Regions from separate parts of the Homo sapiens genome. Here region 2 is linked to region 1. The links are contacts of gene promoters, found by promoter capture Hi-C in blood cells and fetal thymus (Javierre and others, 2016). All regions are on one chromosome and are shown on one strand. Each heading gives the region's core, a stretch centred on a gene start or on the middle of the fragment in contact. The rest is flanking DNA. Distances are from core to core; before and after follow the strand shown.

The links. Contacts are between HindIII fragments. The CHiCAGO score rates a contact against its expected background, and 5 or more counts as called.
Region 2: a contact is called between a fragment that was not itself captured here and the fragment with the promoter of BHLHE41 in region 1, in 1 of 17 cell types (M2 macrophages). The highest score is 6.6, in M2 macrophages.

What each region holds. Positions count from the first base shown.
Region 1 is chr12:26,123,739-26,130,864 of GRCh38, forward strand. It overlaps BHLHE41 (basic helix-loop-helix family member e41), which reads right to left and starts at 1,299. Exons shown (of 5, transcript NM_030762.3): 1 at 980-1,299; 2 at 781-844; 3 at 334-441; 4 at 1-3. The coding sequence starts at 1,041. It also overlaps a transcript of SSPN not described here. RefSeq lists a silencer at 2,711-2,880. The HindIII fragment of the contact is 3,679 bases long and covers 1-3,622 here.
Region 2 is chr12:26,304,825-26,311,454 of GRCh38, forward strand. LOC105369705 (a long non-coding RNA gene) reads left to right here. Exons shown (of 6, transcript XR_007063249.1): 6 at 5,552-5,631. Among named protein-coding and RNA genes, the nearest start is that of ITPR2-AS2, 11 kb to the right of the region's middle. The HindIII fragment of the contact is 2,009 bases long and covers 520-2,528 here.

The DNA of each region.
Region 1 (7,126 bases), core at 49-2,548:
AGTCTGCAGTGGTGCAAAAAAGAAACGGGCACTTGGTTACTTAAAAACACACATTTGGCTTAATTGGCTGTCCATTCAGCACAGCAATTTAAGCAAACACTTTGAAAGAAGTACTGTTCTTTTACTTCTTGAGCTTTCCACAAGACAGGTTATAAATGATTTCTTGCCTTCAGCTGGGAGCACCTACTCCAGTTTGCGGGAAACTCTGTACGGTATAGCACAAGTTTTAAGTCAGGAACTTATATTTACATTTATTCTTATATTTTCTGGGAGTCGCACCAGACTATTAACACGCCCTTGGAGAGCAGCAAAGAATGAAAATGTGCATCTTACTGTCAATTTCAGATGTTCAGGCAGTAAATCTTTCAGCTGAGCAATGCATTCATTAATTCGGTCTCTTCTTTTCTTTTCTATTAATCTGTGCGGTAATTTGTAGGTATCCTTAATATATGAGAGTCATGGAAAAGAGAAAACAGTAAGCGAAACATTCACTTATTGGATATTACCCTCGTCTGCCCCCCCCGCCCCCCCACCATAAAACATACTATGTGATAAACTACACCCAAGAAACCTCTTTCCTCTGGACTGTTCTGCAATGCAATTTAAATTCAGGTATGATGTTTAATATCCCCCTGAGAGTACCCAGCAAGCCACTTAAAATTCACAGTTGGGGAAGCTCAGGGGCTGGAATATATTTGCGGGCAGAGCTTCACTGTGAAATCAATGGCTCTAATTAACTACCCATGCAGGTTATGAGGAATATCGGGAACTTACACTTACCTTGGTGTCGTCTCGTTTCATGCTCCTTTTGGGTTTACACATATACAAAGAGGAATAGTCCAGTCTGCAAAACAGAAATCAGCATCAGGCACCCATTCGGGGAGGGGCTCTGCCCTCGCCAGCTCCATACCACTTTCTGGAGAAGAAAAAAATCAAACCAAAGCCTAGACAGATATTCGCAAGGGTGCGTGCACCTTACCCTATAAAATCTCTATGTTCCAGTAACTGTCTCTCTTGCAAATGAGGAATTCCTTCGTCCATGTTCAACTGCTGTTCGTTTCCTCTGTTTCGATTTTTGGGGCTCTGTACAATAATCTGTGGGACGGTAGGCTTGGGAGACCTTGGGGGGATCTGTGCGTCTCCAGTCTCTCTCTCGCTCTCCCTCTTCAGTGCAGTGTTGAAAGTGTGAAGCAGTTGGTCCCCCCCCTCCACCGCGCTCGCACACACACACGCACACACACGCACACTCGCGCCGGCCCCACTGCGCTGGTAGTTTGCTCTCACTCCAGGCAGTGTTTGGCCACAGGGCACGCGCGTCGCCGGCCAGACCAGCACCCAGCTCACGTGCGGAACGTACCATCCGCGGTCCAGCCCGGAGGGGGGCGGGGGAGGAGGGGCCGGGCCGGGCGGGGGCGTCGGGAGAAGGCGGCGAGAGAAGGCGAACGGCAGGAGGGGGCGGGGACACCTGATCAGGGCCACCGGAAAGGAAAAACAACTTCGGCCAAGCTATTCATCTTCCCAAAGGCGATGCAGTCGGCAGGAGGAGGGGGGAGTGGGGGTGCAGGGGTGCGGGGCAGCCTGAGCTTCCTTGGCTCCAAAATGCGACTCCCTGGGTTCGTCCGTTGTTACGGTGCAGGAATGTGAACGTGGCTTTTTGCTTTTCCACCGATTGTGCTGTTGGTTTGAACCATAGAAAGGAAGTGAAAAGAGAATTCGCGGTGGGTAAACTTGAGTCCCAAAGGAAATTTTGGAGACTTGTTTGCTCACTGATCAGTGGCCTGGAGGGACTCCTTGGCGCTGGGTGGAGAGGTTGCCTCGAGAAGAAGCAACTTGCAATCCGCTCCTTGAAGGATTTAAGATACATGAAAACGTTGTCACTGGGTCCGAATGTCGCAATCCAAGTGTCTTTCGGTGACACGGCGTCCCTGGGCCAACTAAACTTCCCCGCAGCAGCCGGAATTGCGGTGCCACTAATCACAGCAGCAGATGACGACGTTTGGGGCCGCGTGTGCTCCTGGAGGAACGCGGCGGGGAGCGAGCCGGGGTTGAGTGGGGGCTGGGAAGGGAGAAGGGGGTGGCACGAGAGGGGGTGGCACGAGAGGGGCTACCACAGAAAAGCTATGCAGCATTTATCACCCGCCCGCTCAACTCTGCCGCGTTCTGAGCCTCCGGTGACGCTACGTGCTTTCCCCATCCCCCCGCCCCCCCGCGCGATAAGAGACGCCCGGAGTGTGCAGAGCCCACGTTTACTACCGCTGGCACCTCCAAAGCCTCCCTCCTTAATCCGGTCTCAAACGGGTACCAGCACAGGGCCAGCAACGTGATCCGACCTGCCGCTGCTGCCACATCACTGCTCGGGGAACCCGTGCGCGCGCGCGCTCGCCCTGCAGCCGCGGCGCTCGGCGCCGGGAATCACAGGCCAGCAAGAGCCGGGTTACCTTTCCCCAGAGCCACCCTGGGAGCATGACTCACTGCTAGTGAGAGTTACCGGGAGGTGCCCGGGGATGCGCACTGCCCACGCCGCCCTGCCAGCCCAGGGGAAGGCATGTCCTGAGGGACTCCCAGGGGTGGGATGGAGGCTATATATATATTTCTCTAGATATACATAAAGACATAGAGAAAAAAACCAAGGTTTTTCCTGCACAGAGAGGGATATTTACATTCTCCCCGGGGTGATCTCTGAAACGTTGATTATTGCCGGTGATAAGTGAACCGAGGGGAGAAGAACGCCAAAGGTACATGCACCAGGGCGCAGCAGGGACTGGGGCGCCCGCTACGTGTCCCCCGGCCCGCCCCGCCGGGCACGGGTTCCGGGGACGGATCTGGGTCGCGGGAAGCGGCGGCTGGGAGGAGGTCACGTGTCTGCGGGAGTCGCGTCTCCTCCCCGACTCCAGGAGCAGCCCGGGCCGCGGCGGCCGCTCGCGCTGCTGCAGTCTCCGGAGTCCTGGGCGGAGACGCGCACTGCGTCTGGCTTCGTGACTCGGGCGGCGGCGGCGGCCCAGGATCACCCCGGCGTGAGGAGACGCTCGCGGTCCGTTCAGTTCATCTGTTTAGAGGGCCTTTTAAGGTCTCTCGACTTCCTCAAATAGAGGAACGTATTTTGCACCAAACAGGCAATTTAATCACGATGGTTCTTAATTTAAAAAGTATTTTTAAAATGCTGACTTTATTTTAAATCTCGGTCCGACCTCTCTCCTATTTCCAAAAGGTTAGGTAATTAAGACCCTTCGATGGGGAGGGCACGTTGGAGCCCTAAAAGCGACCTATTCCTGCAGTACTGTATCATTTTTACCTCTTTTTAATTGACTAAAAATGGGAATGCCGTTAGGTGAATAATTTAAAAATTAAAACACCAGGTCCCCTTCTAGATTTCTGAATGTTTGGAGTAGAAAGGGGATGTAAATATTTGCTCCAGAGCTAAATTTCACTTGAAAAGGATGACTGGTTAGGGAAAATGAAATAAAGACAAGATCATTGCATTTTGGCCTCGTCGGGCTAAAAACACAAGGCAGACATCTGACCAGGGCAAACCTTAGAAGCTAAGTCTGGGGCAGAGATTAAATGCAAGTTGAAATAGGAGGAACACGATCAGGAGCCTTGAGGCTCAAAGGTGGGTTAAATAAGCTTGCAGCACCCCATAATTTAAAGGGACAAAAAGCTGCAAATGACACATGAAGCTTTTTTCTGTTATCTCTTTGAGGCTCCTCTCTCCCCCCATCCTTTCTGCCCCAAGCTTCCCCACTTCCGTACCCTTTTCCCGTGATACCTACTCAAACTGCAAATGGGGTCTTTTCCCAATTTTTATCTCCTTTGTTGTTCTTGATCCCCTTTTCCTCTTCTTTTCTGTCTTTCCTTTACATATTCACCTTTTAACTCATGTTTCCCTTTTTCATTTCTTCTTTATCTTCCTTTCCCTTATGTTCTCTGTCTACCTTTTCCCTGTTAAATGCCAGCTTTTGCCATTTCTCTGTAGTTCTGTCAATCTCCTGTTTGCTTTTTGCCCTTTTTTTTCTTTGATCTTTCACCCTGGTGACTCTTCTTGGTTACCCACTTCCCTTAAACTTGAATCCCATTCCTGTTCTTTCTCAAACTCTTGGCTTCTGGAATATTGGGCATAGTTTGATGCCTCTGAATATCCCTTTGCGCAAGAAGGGTGTAACAATAGCTAACAACTATATAGCCTTTAAGATTAGAGTACCAGACTGCATTCAAAGAGCTTTTTATGTATTAAGTCATTAATCATTTCCACAACCCTCTAAGGTAGATACTATTATTGTTTCCATTCTACAGATGAGAAAATGCTTACAAAGTGAGATTGCAAAATATTTCCAAGGTCCCAGAGCCAGGATTTAAGCCCAGACAGTGGGTTCGAGAGTCTGGACCCTGGACGACTCTTACACCTCAATGTGAATAGTGAGTGGTAAGGTATAAGTGTTAACTAGCTGCTTCAGGGATGTTTTTCTATTTACCAGTATAAGTGTGCACATTTGTGTGTGTGTGTGAATGAAATTGTGTGGGGAGTTTTGCAAGAGAGATGGAAAAGGGAGAGGTGTTAGCATTGGAGCTGATGACAGAGATAAGAAAAGCTATGGCAAGAAGAGAGGCAGTCTTTTGCCATGTCAGTGAGTCATTCAGTTGGCATCTAGCTTCAAATTTATTGATTTAAATCCAAATATCCTAATTAACTCTTATAATTTTGTACAGATGGACAGATGGAAGTACAGTTTAGAAAAGGCTGATGGTGACCAGCTGTTCACCAGCTCTGCTGAGCAAACTGAGCCAAGCTCTAATGTGAAGACTTCAGGTTAGTAATAGGAAAAGTTCACCTGTGGTGAGGTTAGAAAGGGAAAAAAAGTACGCTAACAAAGGAACAGAAACTAGAATGCCATCTTTGGATATGTTTTAAAATAGGTTGAGTCTTATCTTTTTAGGAAAGCTTAATGCTATCCTGCTGAAAGCCAAGAAGATACAAGATGAGCTCAAAGCCCCTTTGAGCTTATAATTAAAGAATTTTGTGATGCTTTGCTTTCAATTAAAGATATCCATCTTTCTCCTTTTAATAGGCGAGGGGTAGCTGCTTCCATTGCTTTTCTTTGGTTAAGTAAGGAAATCATTACCTATAGAGACACTAATGAAAGGAAATACTTAGGCCAATTCTCCCCCCTGCCTAAATATCCTAAGTCCTGCACTCATTATATTCACCCTGTGACTTTAGAAGGCCTTATCCTGTTTGCAAAGTCTTGGATTTCCAACAGAAACAGAACTTGCCTGAAAGGATTAAAGTTTCCATGGGGAATAGAGGTTTTCTGCCTCTTTAGGGTTCTGCAAGCCCTACTGCCCTTCTGGAGAATTAACTCCAGGGTGTTTTAGGAACCCAAGTGTGATCCAAACTAACTGTACATCTCTGATGGCCCCAAAATCTGCTTAGGGGCGTAGAGTCTCCTGCCTGTGATACTGTGAAAATGGCCCATCTGAAGGGCAGAAGCCATTCTTGATCACCTCTGTTTTACAGAGCGGACAAGAATCTGCAGACGTTTTACATCAAAGTTAAGCAGAGTCCAAAACAATCTAAAAAAGTTTTGGGTTGATGCTAAAATCAAGGCCTGGAGGGGATAGCGGGGTGGGATCTGGACTTACAAAAGCTTCCCTAGGAATTTCGGCTCTTGGCATGCACACCTACTCTCAAGGGAGAAGAGTTAATGTTGTCAGGCACACCACAGAAAGAAGGGTGCCTCAGAGAAGGATTTAAGGAGGGACGGCAATTCCACTGCTACTCACCAGAAGCCAGTATGACTTTAAAATATTGATGATGTTATTTGCTGAAAGTACCGGATTTTAAATGCCAGAATAGAAGATTGGGTTTTCCAGTTGCATACTCAGCAAATGAGCAGAAACAGCACACGTGTCCCCGTTTAATTTGTAAAGGACCTTAAGTCTTTCTGAAGACTATCAATTAATGTGTCTGTAGCCATAAACATACCTATGAACCATGTTTTACATTTATGTAACACTGCTCAAGAAGTTTATGCACTTATTAGTCTTTGCATAGCTTCAAGGAGCAGATAATATTGAGTATTAGAAATAAATTTTATTTCTGCTGAAATCATTTGTATTTTCATATTTATGTGATGATCAAAACCATTCATGCAGGCTGTTCTGCATTTCACGTGTGCTCAAAATTCCTGGAGTTCTTAACATACAAAAGACAACTAGGAGAGAGCCAAGCCCAAAGACCACAATAGGAGGATTCCCTGGCCCTTCTGCCCCTACGTATCTGCCTGGTCCCTCATGGTGCCCATGTGCTTCTCATACTGATTGAGGTGGATCCATAATGAGACCGGAAAAGTAGCATGAGGAGGAGATGACAACCCCATTAAGGACTTTCACAAAGTGTTCTCTACCATTTCTCTGGAGTCTGGACTAGTTGGATGGTGGAAGTCTGCAGGAAGAGGGGCCTTTTAATGTCTGTGTTTCCTTTGTTACTGCTGATGAAAATTCTTGGAAAAATCTTCCAAGAAAAACATGTTTATGCAATGTGAAGCACATTCAAATATAAATAAGATGCACTAAATGTCCACTTCTCTCACCCACCCACTATGGGCTTCATACGGTCCTTACATCAATTGTCAGATGGTGTCCTCCTGGTGCAGAGAGTTGTCAGTAACAGATATTTCTTCTGACTTCAAAGGTACTCCTACTTTAAAAAAACAACAACAGAAAACTAGCTAAGGAGGGTTAAATCCAGACTTACAATCAAAACTATTGGTATAAAACTTTTTATTTAATAGCTAAAGCGAAAAATCATATATAACAATTACCCAACAAGTACTATGGTTCTGGTATTAACTTATAATCATCATTAGTAAGGAAACTGACTGAAATCCAGGCTGTGTATATTAGTTAAGGTCTGCATTTCAGCCAAAATAACAGCAACTGAAATTAGGAAGTTCTTTTTTGGTCACATAAAAGAAGTCTGAAGGTAAGCAGTCCAGGGGTAACGTGAAGTGGTAAAAGTGCCATCAGTGTCCCACACTTCTGCTTTTCCACTCTCCACCAGCGTCTATCTGCAAGATCACCCCATGGTCAGAAGATGGCTGCAGGAACTCCTGCAGGGAAGGATGAAAGG
Region 2 (6,630 bases), core at 274-2,773, 180 kb after region 1:
TTAAAACCTGTTCTTCAAAAAAGAAAATAAAACACAAGCCACAAACAGGAGAAAATATTTTCAATGCACATATCTGGAAAAGAACTTGTAACCAGAGTATAGTAAAAGCTCTTACAACTCAGCAGTAAGAAGATAAAACAAAAATAGGCAAAATGTGAATAAAGAGTTCATGAAAGAAGAGCTAAATGGCAAATAATCACATGAAAAGATCTTCAACATCATTAATCATCAGAGAAATGAAAATAAATACCATGAAATATTGTATACCCATTATAATTGCTAAAAGTAAAAGGACTGAAAATTCCAACTGTTGGAGAATTTGGAACAACTGGCACTCTTGCAAAATAGTACAGCAACTTTGGAAAACAGTTTGGCAAATTTCTAAATGTTAAATATAAACTTTCCAAACCACTCAGCAATTCTGTTCCTAGATATCTACTCACAAGACAAAAAGTGCATGTAAAAATAAATAAATAAATAACTTATAGACAAATATTTATAGCAACTTTATTTGTAAAAAGCTTGGAAAACAACACAAATCACCAACTACAAATAAATAAACAAATACATTGGGGTATTTCCATGTAATGAAATTCTTAGCAGTAGAAAGAAACAAACTACTGATACATAGAACAACATGGATAAACATCAAATACATTATTCTACGCAAAATAGTCCATATATAAGAGATTATATACATATGATTGCATTTCTAAGAATTTATAGAACTGGCAAAACTAATCTATGATGATAGAAATCAGATCAGTGATTGGCTGAAATCAGATCAGTGGTTGCCTGAGAGCTGTGAAGAGGGGACAGGAGATCATAAAGGGACACAAAATAATTTTCTGAAGAGATGAAAATAGTCTACATCTTAAATGGGAAGTTTGTTATATGTGTGTGTATATATATATGTGTGTGTGTGTGTGTGTGTGTGTGTGTGTGTCTGTGTGTGTATGTATGTGTGTGTGTGTGTGTGTGTGTGTGTGTCAAAAGTTCTTAACTTATAAGACTGCAATACAATAGCTTTTGAGCAACTAATGGGTCAAAGAAGAAATCAAAAGGAAAATTAGAAAACATCTTGAGACAAACCGAAAACACAATATACCAAACTAATTAGATGCAGCAAAAGCATTTCTAATAAATACCTACATTAAAAAAGAAAAAATATCTCTAACTTTACACCTCAACAAACTAGAAGAAGAACAAACTAAGCCCAAAGTTAACAGAAGGAGTAAATAATAAATATTACAGCAGAAATTAATGAAATATATAATAGAAAAGCAACAGAAAAATAATCATAACCAAGAGTTGGATTTTTTTAAGTTGACAAACCTTTAGCTAGACTAAGAAAAAAGAGACAGAATTCAAATAAAATCAGAAGTAAAAGAGGAAACATTACAACTGATGCCACAGGAATAAAAAGGATCATAAGGGACTATTATGAATGCCAACAAACTGGATAATCTTGAAGAAATGGATAAATTCCTAGACATATAACCTACCAAACGTGCATCACGAAGAAGTATAAAGTCTGAACAGGCCATAACTAATAAGGAGATTGAATCGGCATCCTAGTCCATTTTGTGTTGCTACAACAGAATACCTGAAACTGGGTAATTTATAAAGAAAAGAAATTTATTTGGCTCACAATTCTGGAGGCTGGGAAGTCCAAGAGCATGCTGTTGGCATCTTGGAGGGCCTTAGTGCTGCATTATCCCATGGTGGAACTCAGAAGGGTAAGAGGGTGAAAGTAAATAGAAAGAAGCCAAACTCATCCCTTTATCAGGAACCAACTTCTATGATAAATAACCCATTCCTGTGATAAAGCTGATGCCTTTATCCCATTCATGAAGGCAGAGCCTTCATGCCCTAATCACCCCTTAAAGGCCCTACCTCTCAACATTGTTGCATTGGGGATTAAGTTTCTAACACATGAACTTTGGGGTACACACTCAAGCCATAGCAGTCAGTAATCAAAAACCTCCCAACAAAGAAAATTCCAGGTCCAGATGGCTTCACTGGTGAATTCTACCAAACATTTAAAGAAGAATTGATGCCAATTTTTCTCAAACTCTTTTCAAAAATTGAAAAGGAAGGAACACTTCCAAACTCATTTTTATGAACCCAGCAAAACCTCGATACCAAAGCTAAACAAAGACACTATACGAAAACTATAGGCTAATAGTCCTGATGAACATACATACAAAAATCTTCAACAAAATGCCAGCAAACTAATTCAACAGCATATTAAAAGTGTCACACACCATGTCCAAGTGGGATTTATCCCTGGGATGCAAGGATGGATAAATATATGAAAATTAATTAATGCGATACATCACATTAACAGAATAAAGGATAAAATCACATGACTATCTCAATAGATGCAGAAGAATTCGATAAAATTCAACACATTTTCATGATAAAAACTCTCAACAAACTAGGAATAGGAAGTAAGTACCTCAACATAATAAATGTTACATACAGAAAGCTCATAGCTAACATCATATTCAGTGGTGAAAACTGAAAGCTTTTCCACTAAGATCAGAAACAAGGCATGGATACCCAGTCCTTTCTATTCAACAGAGTACTGGAAGTCCTAGCCAGAGCAACCAGGCAAGAAAAAGAAACAAAAGGTAACCAAATTAGAAAGGAATAAGTAAAATTGTCCCTATTTGCAGATGACATGATTTTATATAGAAAAGCCCAAAGACTCCACTAAAAAACTGTTACAACTAATAAATTGAGTAAAGTTGTAAAATACAAAATTAACATACAAAAATCAATTACATTTCTATACACTAATAATGAACTGTCTGAGAAATTAGCAATCTCATTTACAATAACATAAAAAATATTTTTAGGAATGAAATTAACTAGGGAAGTATATCCTGAAAACTACAAAACATTGATAAAAGAAATTAAAGAAGACCAAACAAATGGAAAGACATCCTACATTCATGGATTTGAAGACTTAATATTGTTAAAATGTCCCCAAACGATCTATAGATCAATGCAATTCCTGTCAAAATCCCAATGGCATTTTTTATAGAAATAGAAAAAAATACCCAATTCCACAATTCACATGGAGCCACAAAAGAACCTGAACAGTCAATGCAATCTTGAAAACTAACAAAGGTGGAGGCATCACAGTTTCTGATTTCAAAATATAACACAAAGTTATAGTAATCAAAACAGTGTGGTGGTGGGATAAAGACAGAAATATAGACGAGTTACCCAGAAGTAAACCCACACATATATGGTCAACTGATCTTTAACAATGATGTCAACAATACACAATGGGGAAAGGATAGTCTCTTCAACAAGTGGTGTTGAGAAAACTGGATATCCACATGCAAAATAATAAAATTGGACCTTTATTTTATACCATACACAAAAATCAACTCAAAATGGATTAAAGCCTTAAAGGTAAGACCTGGAACTATAAAACCCCTAGAGGAAAACATAGGGAGAAATCTTCATGACGTTGGCCTTGACAATGATTTTGTGGATATGACACCAAAAAAAGCATAGGTAACAAAGCAAAATAGACAAGTGGGACTGCCTCAAACTAAAAAGCTTCTACCAGAAAAGAAACAATCAACAGAGTGAAAAGACATCCTATAAAATGGGGAAATATTTGCAAACCATATTTCTGATAAAGGGTTAATTTCCAAAATATGTAAGAAGACTTATATATAAGAAACTCCTATAACACAACAGTAAAAAAACTAGTAACCTGCTTAAATAATTGGGCTAAAGACTTGAATACACATTTTTCCAAAGTGGACATACAAATGGCCAACAAGTTTATGAAAAGATGCCCAGTCACTAGTCATCAGGGAAATGCAAATATAAACCACCATGAGATATCACCTCACACTTGTTAGGATGGCTATTATAAAAATACACACACACACACACACACACAAAGACAACACATGTTGATAAAATGTAAAGAAATTTGAATCCTTATACAGTGTTGGAGGGGAATGCAAAATGATGCTGCCACTATGACAAACAGCATGGAGATTTTTCAAAATATTAAAAATAGAACTAGCATAGGATTCAGCAAACCCACTTCTGGGTATTTGTCCAAAAGAACTGAAGTCAGGATGTCAAAGAGATATTACCATTCCCATATTCATTGCAGCACTATTTATAATCGCCAAGCTGTGGAAATAAAAACTAAGTGTTCACTGACAGATTAATGGATTTTTAACAATGTCATATAGACATGTAATAGAATACTATTTAGTTATACAAAAGAAGGAAAGCCTGCAACATGGAACAACATGTATAAATGTTGAGGACATTATAGTAAGTGAAATGAGCCAGTCAGAAAAGGACAAATACTGCATAATTGCACTTATATGAAGCGTCTAAAATAGGCAAACTCATAGAAACAGAGGGTGAATAGTTATTGTCAGGGGCGGGGGGATGGGGAAAATGGAAAGTTGCTAATCAATAGGCAAAATATTTTTATTTTTATTTTTATTTTTTTGAGATGGAGTCTCACTCTGTCACCCAGATTGGAGTCCAGTGGCACGATCTTAGCTCACTGCAACCTCCACCTTCTGGGTTCAAGTGATTCTCCTGCCTTAGCCTCCTGAGTAGCTGGGACTACAGGTGTGCACCACCACACCCAGCTAATATTTTTTGTATTTTTAATAGAGACGGGGTTTCACCGTGTTGGTCAGACTGGTCTCGAACTCCAGATCTCAAATGATCCTCCCGCCTCGGGCTCCCAAAGTGCTGGGATTACAGGAGTGAGCCACTGAGCCTGGCCACAATATTTCAATTATACAGGATACACAACTTTGTGTCTATAGATAGCATTACTGTATTTTACATTTAAAAGTCTATTAAGAGGGCAGATTTCATGCCAAGTGTTCTCATCACAATAAAAAAAAATGAAAACAACACCAATGATAAAAAGGCGGTAGATAAATAAATACCCCAGTTTCCTCATCTATCAATCAGCTGGGGTAATTCTGTAGTATGGTCTACACTGTCTCCCAGTGTTCTGAAATGGGATTAAGCCTTTTTCCCCTAGGATAATCACAATAATTCACAATTTATTGGTTTCCTTCACGGTCCCATTTCGCTTCCCACTCCTTCTCTGGTACTCTTGACTACAATAAATCATTTTCCCTGTAAAGAACGTAGTCTTTTTATTCCCTCAAAAAATATTTGGGATGCTTTTGATACTGATTTAATTAATTAATCAATTATATTACTTCATTATGAAGTTGCTCTTTGGAATAATTATCATAAAAACATAACATGGGTTCTGTCAGTCTACACATTTTAGGATGATTTTACCAGCATGAATGATAATAAAGGTTAAGATAATAAAAAAGTCATCAAATTGTATACTTACATATGTAAACACTATTGTATATAACATAATTCAGTAAATTTGATTTTTATATGGATAGACACAATATTAAATGTGTTGACATATGTATATGAACTTAATCAGAGATTAACTTAAGAATTATGTTCAAGGATGTTTCTCACTGCTATTTTTTTATTATTATACTTTAAGTTTTCAGATACATGTGCAGATCCTGCTGGTTTGTTTCATAGATATACATGTGGCACAGTGGTTTGCTGCACCCATCAACCCATCATCTAGGTTTTAAGCCCTGCATGCATTAGGTATTTCTCCTACTGCTATCCCTTCCTTTGCCCCCCACCCCGATAGGCCCTGGTGTGTGATGTTCCCCTCCCTGTGTCCATGTGTTCTTATTGTTCAACTCCCACTTAGGAGTGAGAACATGCAGTGTTTGGTTTTCTGTTCCTGTGTTAGTTTGATGAGAATGATGGTTTCCAGCTTCATCCGTGTCCCTGCAAAAGACATGTTATCCTTTTTTATGGCCGCATAGTATTCCATGGTGTATATATGCCACATTTTCTTTGTCCAGTCTATCATCGATGGGCATTTGGGTTGGTTCCAAGTCTTTGCTATTGTAAACAGCGCTGCAATAAACATACGTGTGCACATGTCTTTATAGTAGAATGATTTATAATGCTTTGGGTATATACCCAGTAATGGGATTGCTAGGTCAAATGGTAATTCCAGCTCTAGTCCTTCAGGAATCACCACACTGTCTTCCACAATGGTTGAACTAATTTATACTCCCATCAACAGTGTAAAAGTGTTACTGTTTCTTCACATGCTCACCAGCATCTGTTGTTTCCTGACTTTTTAATGATTACCATTCTAACTGGTGTGAGATGGTATCTCATTGTAGTTTTGATTGCATTTCTCTAATGACCAGTGATGATGAGCCTTTTTTCAGGTGTTTGTTGGCTGCATAAATGTCCTCTTTTGAGAAGTGTCTGTTAATATCCTTTGCCCACTTTTTAATGGGGTTGTTTGTTTGTTCGGGTAAATTTGTTTAAGTTCCTTGTAGATTCTGGATATTAGACCTTTGTCAGATTGGTAGATTGTAAAAATTTTCTCCCATTCTGTAGGTTGCCTGTTCACTCTGATGATAGTTTATTTTGCTGTGCTGAAGCTCTTTAGTTTAATTAGATCCCATTTGTCAATTTTGGCTTTTGTTGCAACTTGCTTTTGGTGTTTTAGTCATGAAGTCTTTCCCCATGCCTATTTCTTGAATG